Regions from separate parts of the Homo sapiens genome. Here region 2 is linked to region 1. The links are contacts of gene promoters, found by promoter capture Hi-C in blood cells and fetal thymus (Javierre and others, 2016). All regions are on one chromosome and are shown on one strand. The core of a region is centred on a gene start or on the middle of the fragment in contact, and the rest is flanking DNA. Distances in the headings are between cores, read along the strand shown. Region 1 holds the start of H4C6 (H4 clustered histone 6). Region 2 overlaps BTN1A1 (butyrophilin subfamily 1 member A1).

What was found. Contacts are between HindIII fragments. The CHiCAGO score rates a contact against its expected background, and 5 or more counts as called.
Region 2: a contact is called between a fragment that was not itself captured here and the fragment with the promoter of H4C6 in region 1, in 1 of 17 cell types (monocytes). The highest score is 5.0, in monocytes.

Annotation. Positions count from the first base shown.
Region 1 is chr6:26,238,744-26,242,381 of GRCh38, forward strand. It overlaps H4C6 (H4 clustered histone 6), which reads left to right and starts at 1,650. Exons shown (of 1, transcript NM_003540.4): 1 at 1,650-2,050. The coding sequence starts at 1,683. The coding sequence ends at 1,994. RefSeq lists enhancers at 1,277-1,376, 1,837-1,886. The HindIII fragment of the contact is 5,393 bases long and covers 1-3,638 here.
Region 2 is chr6:26,502,331-26,505,968 of GRCh38, forward strand. BTN1A1 (butyrophilin subfamily 1 member A1) reads left to right here. Exons shown (of 8, transcript NM_001732.3): 4 at 2,595-2,876. All of the region lies in intron 1 of LOC107986583 (a long non-coding RNA gene), which reads right to left. Among named protein-coding and RNA genes, the nearest start is that of BTN1A1, 3.8 kb to the left of the region's middle. The HindIII fragment of the contact is 357 bases long and covers 1,487-1,843 here.

The DNA.
Region 1 (3,638 bases), core at 400-2,899:
TGCTTGTTTGGTGCCTACCTCAAAAAGGAGAGCACTTGAGATCCTTGTGTCTATTCCTACAGGTAACTGAACCTAAGCCAAAATTTAAGTAGACTCTTAACTCCACAAAATGAATAATCTTCTCACTGCTTTTAGGCACCAGCAGAGACGGGATTTTTAAGTTACCCTTGCAGTATATAGGAGGCAATGAATGTGAAGCAGTAGACTGTAAGAGTTAATGTTGAATTTTTCTACTACACATACCCTATGATCTGTGTGTAGAACACTTCTTCCGGAATCTTTTATTAGGACAGTATTTCACAGAATTTATTAGTATTATTTTTGTTAATTTACAAACCTTTATTCACCATGATTTACCATGTATGCTTTAGTGGCATGAAAGCAGTGGTAGGTAGCAAGGTAGTGAGACTCCAGAATCGAGCCAACAATACAATGCCATTTATTAGAGGATAATGTCTTCAAGCCTGGGATTCCTTATCTTTACACCTCAGATATTGCATTATACATTGAAAAACTAAGAATGAAACTTCAATTAATATTGGTTTCCCTTACTAGAGGTCTTTCTTTATTAGGAATGCCAAAAACGATGTGAATGTATATGTCTCTGCCAAACGCTAAGTCTCATGATTGGCCAAATTTAAGAAGTATTGCTACATTTTAAGAATTAATAAAAATGGCCGGGCGTGGTGGCTCACGCCAGTAATCCCAGCACTTTGTGAGGCCAAGGTGGGTGGATCACCTGAAGTCAGGAGTTCGAGACCACCCTGGCCAACATGGCGAAACCCCGTCTTTACTAAGAAAATACAAAAATTACCCAGGTGTGGCGACGCGTGCCTGAAATCACAGCTACTCGTGAGGCTGAGGCATGAGAATCGCTTGAACCCAGAAGGCGGAGGTTGCAGTGAGCCGAGATAGCGCCACTGCACTCCAGCCTGGGCAACAGAGTGAGACCCCGTATCAAAAAAAAAAAATTAGTAAAAATACATTTTCAAAGAATCTTCACATTTAAAAATTAAAGCTAGGCGCCTGTAATCCCAGAACTTTGGGAGGCCGAGGCGGGTGGATCACCTGAGGTCAGGAGTTCGAGACCAGCCTAGTCAACATGGCGAAACCCCATCTCTACTAAAAATACAAAAATTAGCCGGGCGTGGTGACGCGCGCCTGTAGTTGCAGCTACTGCAGGGGCTGAGGCAGAAGAATCGCTCGAACCCGAGAGGCGGAGGTTGCAGTGAGCCGAGATCACGCCACTGCACTCCAGTCTGGGGCAGAGCAAAACTGTTTCAAAAGAAATAATAATTTTATTCTCTTGTCTATCCATTCGGTAGACAAGTGTAGCGTTACTGCCTCCTTTTTGCAAATAATAAGGATTTTAGGAGACAGACATTATCAGTTCGAGAGCCCACAGGCACTGGACTAGAAGACACAGAAACCTACACTCAAGACCCAAACAAGGAAACAGGAAGGAGTCAAATCAACTTGCATTTCCCCTACCCTCACCGCCCCCTTTCCTTCCCAAGGCAATAGTGTAGGGGACGCCCAGTAAGTTACGGAAAAGGCGGAGACAGAGGTTTCGTTCCCGCCCCTCCAATTCAGTCTCCAAAAAGGTCCGCATAATTGATATATAAGGGGCTTCAGTGTGTAGCAAAGTTGCAAAAGTTAAGAGTTGTTGTTTGTCTTCGATCATGTCTGGTAGAGGCAAAGGTGGTAAAGGTTTAGGAAAGGGAGGCGCCAAGCGCCATCGCAAAGTGCTGCGTGACAACATACAGGGCATCACGAAGCCCGCCATCCGTCGCTTGGCCCGACGCGGCGGCGTGAAACGCATTTCGGGCCTCATTTATGAGGAGACCCGCGGTGTTCTTAAGGTGTTCCTGGAGAATGTGATACGGGACGCCGTAACCTACACGGAGCACGCCAAGCGTAAGACAGTCACTGCAATGGATGTTGTCTACGCGCTCAAGCGCCAGGGACGCACTCTGTACGGCTTTGGTGGCTGAGCCTCACCCCGGCTTTTTATTTAACAGCTCACCCATAAAAGGCCCTTTTCAGGGCCACCTCCTTCGTCACACGAAGGGCTGTAACTGATGACGACTTGGGTTTCGTTTTGTAAATTTGGGATTCTAACTGAGTTAAACCGAGCCGTTTTTAGCGATCTTCCTAAGATGGCGGATGTGCTAAGGAGAAAGGGAAGGCGAAACATTAGAAACTTGTTCAGGTATTTCGATCGCAAACATTCACAGGAAAAGATGGTGGAAATGGTTTGGGAATACCAGCAGCCTTTTATGACGTATGTGATGTGTTTTATTCCCACGTTTCTGAAATTTACTCCTATGTTAGGTGGCTGGGACTTAACTACACTAGCATTACATGTTTAGTTTTTGAGATGGAGTTGCTCTTGTCCAGGCTGTAGTGCAATGACGCAATCTCGGCTCACCGCAACCACCCCCTCCCGGGTTTAAGCGGTTCTCCTGACTCAACCTCCCGAGTAACTGGGGTTACAGGCATGCGCCACCACGCTTGGCTAATTTTTTATTTTTAGTACAGAAGGGGCTTTTCTGTGTTGGTCTGGCTGGTCTCGAACTCCCGACCTCAGGTGATCCGCCCTTCTTGGCCTCCCAAAGTGCAGGGATTGCAGGCGTGAGCCACCGTGCCCGGCCTTAGTGTTATTTATTAGGCATAGAACGTGAGTAATCTTAGGGCGGCTGTGGACAGATCAATTACTGGTAAACTTAATCCACTACTTGTGTCCGGGCGCGGTGCCTCAGGCCTGAATCACAGCACCTTGGGAGACCACGGCGGGCGGATTACTAGAGCTCAGGAGTTCGAGACTAGCCTGGGCAACCAAAATGGTGAAACTCCGTCTCAACTAAAAAAGTTAAATAGGAAAGTTAGCCCGGCGTTGTGGCGGACGCCTGCTGTCGCAGCTAATCTGCAAGGGCTGAGGCAGGAGAATCGCTTGAGCACGGGAGGCGGAGATTTCAGTGAGCTGAGATGGTGCCACTCCACTCCTGCCTGGGCGACAGAGACCATGCCTCAAAAAAAAAAAAAAAAAAGTAAAGTTTGGCCGGGCTCGGTGGCTCATGTCTGCAATCCCATCTGTAATTCCAGCAGCTTGGGAGGCCGAGGTGGGTGGATCACTTGAGCTCAACGAGTTCGAGACCAGCCTGGCTAGCACTGCAAAACCTCGTCTCTACTAAAAATACAAAAATTAGACGTAGACGTGGTGACACGCGCCTGTAGTCCCAGCTACTCGGGAGGCTGAGGCAGGAGAATCACTTGAACCCGGGAGACTGAGGTTGCAGTGAGCCGAGGTCGCGCCACTGCACTCCAGGCCTGGGGCACAGAACAAGGCTCCGTCTCAAAAAGAAAAAAAAAAGCCCAAGTTTTTGTCTTACCCAGTGAATTCTTTGTTGGGGCACTTACTGTGATTTCAGGTCATTGATAATTTTACTGCTTTATTTCTCAAGTACTGGTAATTTATAACCCAAAGTGTTTCTCCTTGTGCTTTGTCAACCTACCCGGTTATCACCCGCGATCCTGACTCCTAACGTTTTCATTTTTTCACCATACCGAAGAAGTGGCTTCTCATCTGTTCTTTTTTTGTCAATGGTAATTCATTACATACACTGTTCCACAAATAT
Region 2 (3,638 bases), core at 415-2,914, 260 kb after region 1:
TGGACACAGGAAGGATGACTGTGAGTTATTTGCACAGGAGGGCTGTGTACTGGACCATGAAGAAAGGCAGACTTGCAGCTTATCTGCCTTATCTCTTTGTTTTCCCCTGATTAGGACTCCACAGCTAGAAGGTACTGAAGGTCCTACAGTAGGAAATCAGTGAGAAAGGGTTTTGAGTTGAACATGGAGAGAACAGTGCAATGTCTTTATTGTAGAACTTTATTTCAATTATCTCCAGCCCTTTTTCAATAATAGGGTAAGCATTTCTTCATGAAATAATTAAATACATATAAGAGTTATATAACATTCTTTTATACAAGTACACCATAATTTACTTCATCGAGTCCCTGAATTGTACATTTAAATTGTATTTCTCACCATTACACATCTTATGGCTGTGGTGAGCATACCACACACTTTAAGGCTGGCTTATGGATTAGTTTCTAAAGACTGACATCCTAAGATTAGAGAGCATGGCGGTTTGTCACATTCCTGATTCATATAGAAAAGATTCTGTTCTTGTTCCCTTTTTTGCTTCAAGCCAGAATTCAAAGGGAAACAATAAAGAAAATAATAAGCTTTGAGGAGGAAAGTACGCATTGAGGTCTGACTTTCTCAATTCCTAGTGAATGACATCAAGCAAATCTCTTTCTGATTTTTACTGTAAAACTGAGGATGTTTTTATCTAAGATTATTTTTCAAGAATAAAATAGTCTGGGACCAGTGGCCAACTCCTATAATCTCAGCGCTTTGGGAAGCAGAGGCAGGAGGATCTCTTGAGCCAAGAAATTCAAGGTTACAGTAAGCTGATGGTTGCCACTGCACTCCAGCCTGGACAATAGAGTGTGCTGTCAAAAAAAGAAAAAAAAAAAGTGGGATGTGGTGTCTCACGCCTGTAATCCCAGCATTTTGGGAGGCCAAGGCGGGTGACTCACTTTTGATCAGGATATTCAAGACCAGCCTGGCCAACATGGCAAAACCCCATCTCTACTAAAAATACAAAAAGAAATTAGCTGGGTCATACCTGTAATCCCAGCTACTCAAGGAAAATCGCTTGAACCTGGGAGGCAGAGGTTGCAGTGAGCTGAGACTGCACTACTGCACTCCAGCCTGGGCAACAGAGTGAGACTCGTCTCTAACAAAAAAAAAAAGAATAAAATAAAATTAGACAATATATGAGAAATGACCTCGCCAATTCTAAAAACATTATAGACTTATTAGATACTATACTGTGCCTTAAACTGATCTAAAACATATAATATACAAACATATTGCCTTTCACATATATATCATATATGTATATATTATCTAAATCTATATGCATATATTATATATATATATACATAGATATATATTCAAGTAAATATAAAGTTTGAAAAATACTTGGGTGAAATGTGGGTCCCTGCTTCACAACAGGGTCCCCCAGTTGCAGCATCATGTATAATTCAAATTTTGACATTTTGTTTTTAGGGAAGAAGTATCTTAAAGCTTGATTATAAAAACATAGAAATTTGATGGCATAAAATGTGTTACCTTTTATGAGTGGCAGACACCCTTGAGAATCTGCTGAAAGTGGCAGCTCCTTCCATGAAAAGAATATATATTCTTGTATATACACACATTCTTGGAATGTGGATTTTAACCAGTGGTTGTGGAAATGTGTTTAAGAGCTCTTTTATGCAGCTCAGTGTTTTTCTGTACCATGTGGAATTACAGAAAAAAATAGGCTAAACACACAAGAAAAGCAGCTTTATGTTTATATATAACAGGCCACAATTATGTGAGGGAATATGAAGTTGAGACCATTTAAGAAAATTTCTGAATCAACATCATAGATAAAGAAAGCTTAAATTGTCAACTATAATCTCAAGCCAAAGAATCGCCAATCCTCTCCTCAAGGATATTCCTCTGTTCATCCTTAAATACCCAGTCCTATTTCTCCTCCTCCCCACCAAAGTCTTCTCATAATGCTCTCAGCCTAGACCACTAACCCACCTCTGAGTTATTGGTCTTAGTGTTCCTGCTGGCTGGACAAGCACCCCCAAGTCTGCCCACCAAACTGCTGCAAACATTTCAAAGGCTTGATCCCAACAAGGCATCCTTCTCTGATAAGGTATATGAAATTCCTTTTATTGGTACTTCAATTTCCTTTAAAAAAAAAAAAAAACTTTTTTAGAAACAGCATTTCACTCTGTCACCCAGGCTGGAGTGCAGTGGTGCCATCACAGCTCACTGCAGCCTTGAACTCCTGAACTCAAGCAATCCTCCAACCTCAGCCTCCCAAGTAGCTAGGAATACAGGCAAGAACCACCATGCCCAAAGAGATGGGGTCTCATTGTGTTGCCCAGGCTGGTCTTGATCTCCTGGACTCAAGTAATCCTGCCTCAGCCTCCCAAAGTGCTGACATTACAGACATAAACCACTGTGCCTGGCCCTCAGTTTCCTTGTATATTGAAATATGGAGATGAGTTCTTCCCCCTACTAGTCCACTTGTGCCTTTCTGTCTCTCTCTTTCTCAAACTATGTAGCTCTCTGGTTATAAGGCTCCCAAAAGGGGTCCGCTAAAACATTAAGTCCAGATTCTCTCTCCATAGCTCTGGGCTCTGACCCTCACATCAGTATGCAAGTTCAAGAGAATGGAGAAATCTGTCTGGAGTGCACCTCAGTGGGATGGTACCCAGAGCCCCAGGTGCAGTGGAGAACTTCCAAGGGAGAGAAGTTTCCATCTACATCAGAGTCCAGGAATCCTGATGAAGAAGGTTTGTTCACTGTGGCTGCTTCAGTGATCATCAGAGACACTTCTGCGAAAAATGTGTCCTGCTACATCCAGAATCTCCTTCTTGGCCAGGAGAAGAAAGTAGAAATATCCATACCAGGTTAGTGGAACCAATGCTGCTGGATTCCTATGTTGACACAGCTTCAGAGCCACACCACCTGGGACACCTGCCCAGATGTGACCTCATGGCAGAGTTGTCTACTTTCCCCACCTAAGCTCTTTTCCAGTGACTTAAGGGAACCCCACCAACTTTATTAGAAGAGTTAAGATACTGAAGACATAAACCTACCTTGATCTCAAATAAATTTCAGATTATTTATCTATTTATTTTTTGAGACAGTGTCTCACTCTGTTGCCTAGACTGGAGTGCAGCAGCAGAATGATCTCAGCTCACTGCAAGCTCCGCTTCCCAGGTTCAAGCGATTCTCCTGCCTCAGCCTCCAGAATAGCTGGGACGACAAGTGCACACCACCGTGCCCAACTAATTTTGTGTATTTTTAGCGAAGGCAGGGTTTCACCATGTTCCCCAGGCTGGTCTTGAACTTCTGGCCTCAAGCAATCCACCTGCCTCGGCCTCCCAAAGTGCTGGGATTATAGGTGTGAGCCATCACACCCAGTGAAATTCCAGATTTTCCATTTCAGGAGATCTAAGTGAGATAGAGAAGCTTTGTCCCTGGAGGCCTTCCTGATCCAGAGCCTTCTCTCCTCAAGTAAACAAAAAGACTAAGTTGGCCGGGCGTGGTGGCTCACGCCTGTAATCCCAGCACTTTGTGAGGCCGAGACAGGCAGATCACAAGGTCAGGAGATCGAGACCATACTGGCCAACATGGTGAAACCCCGCCTCTACTAAAAATACAAAAAA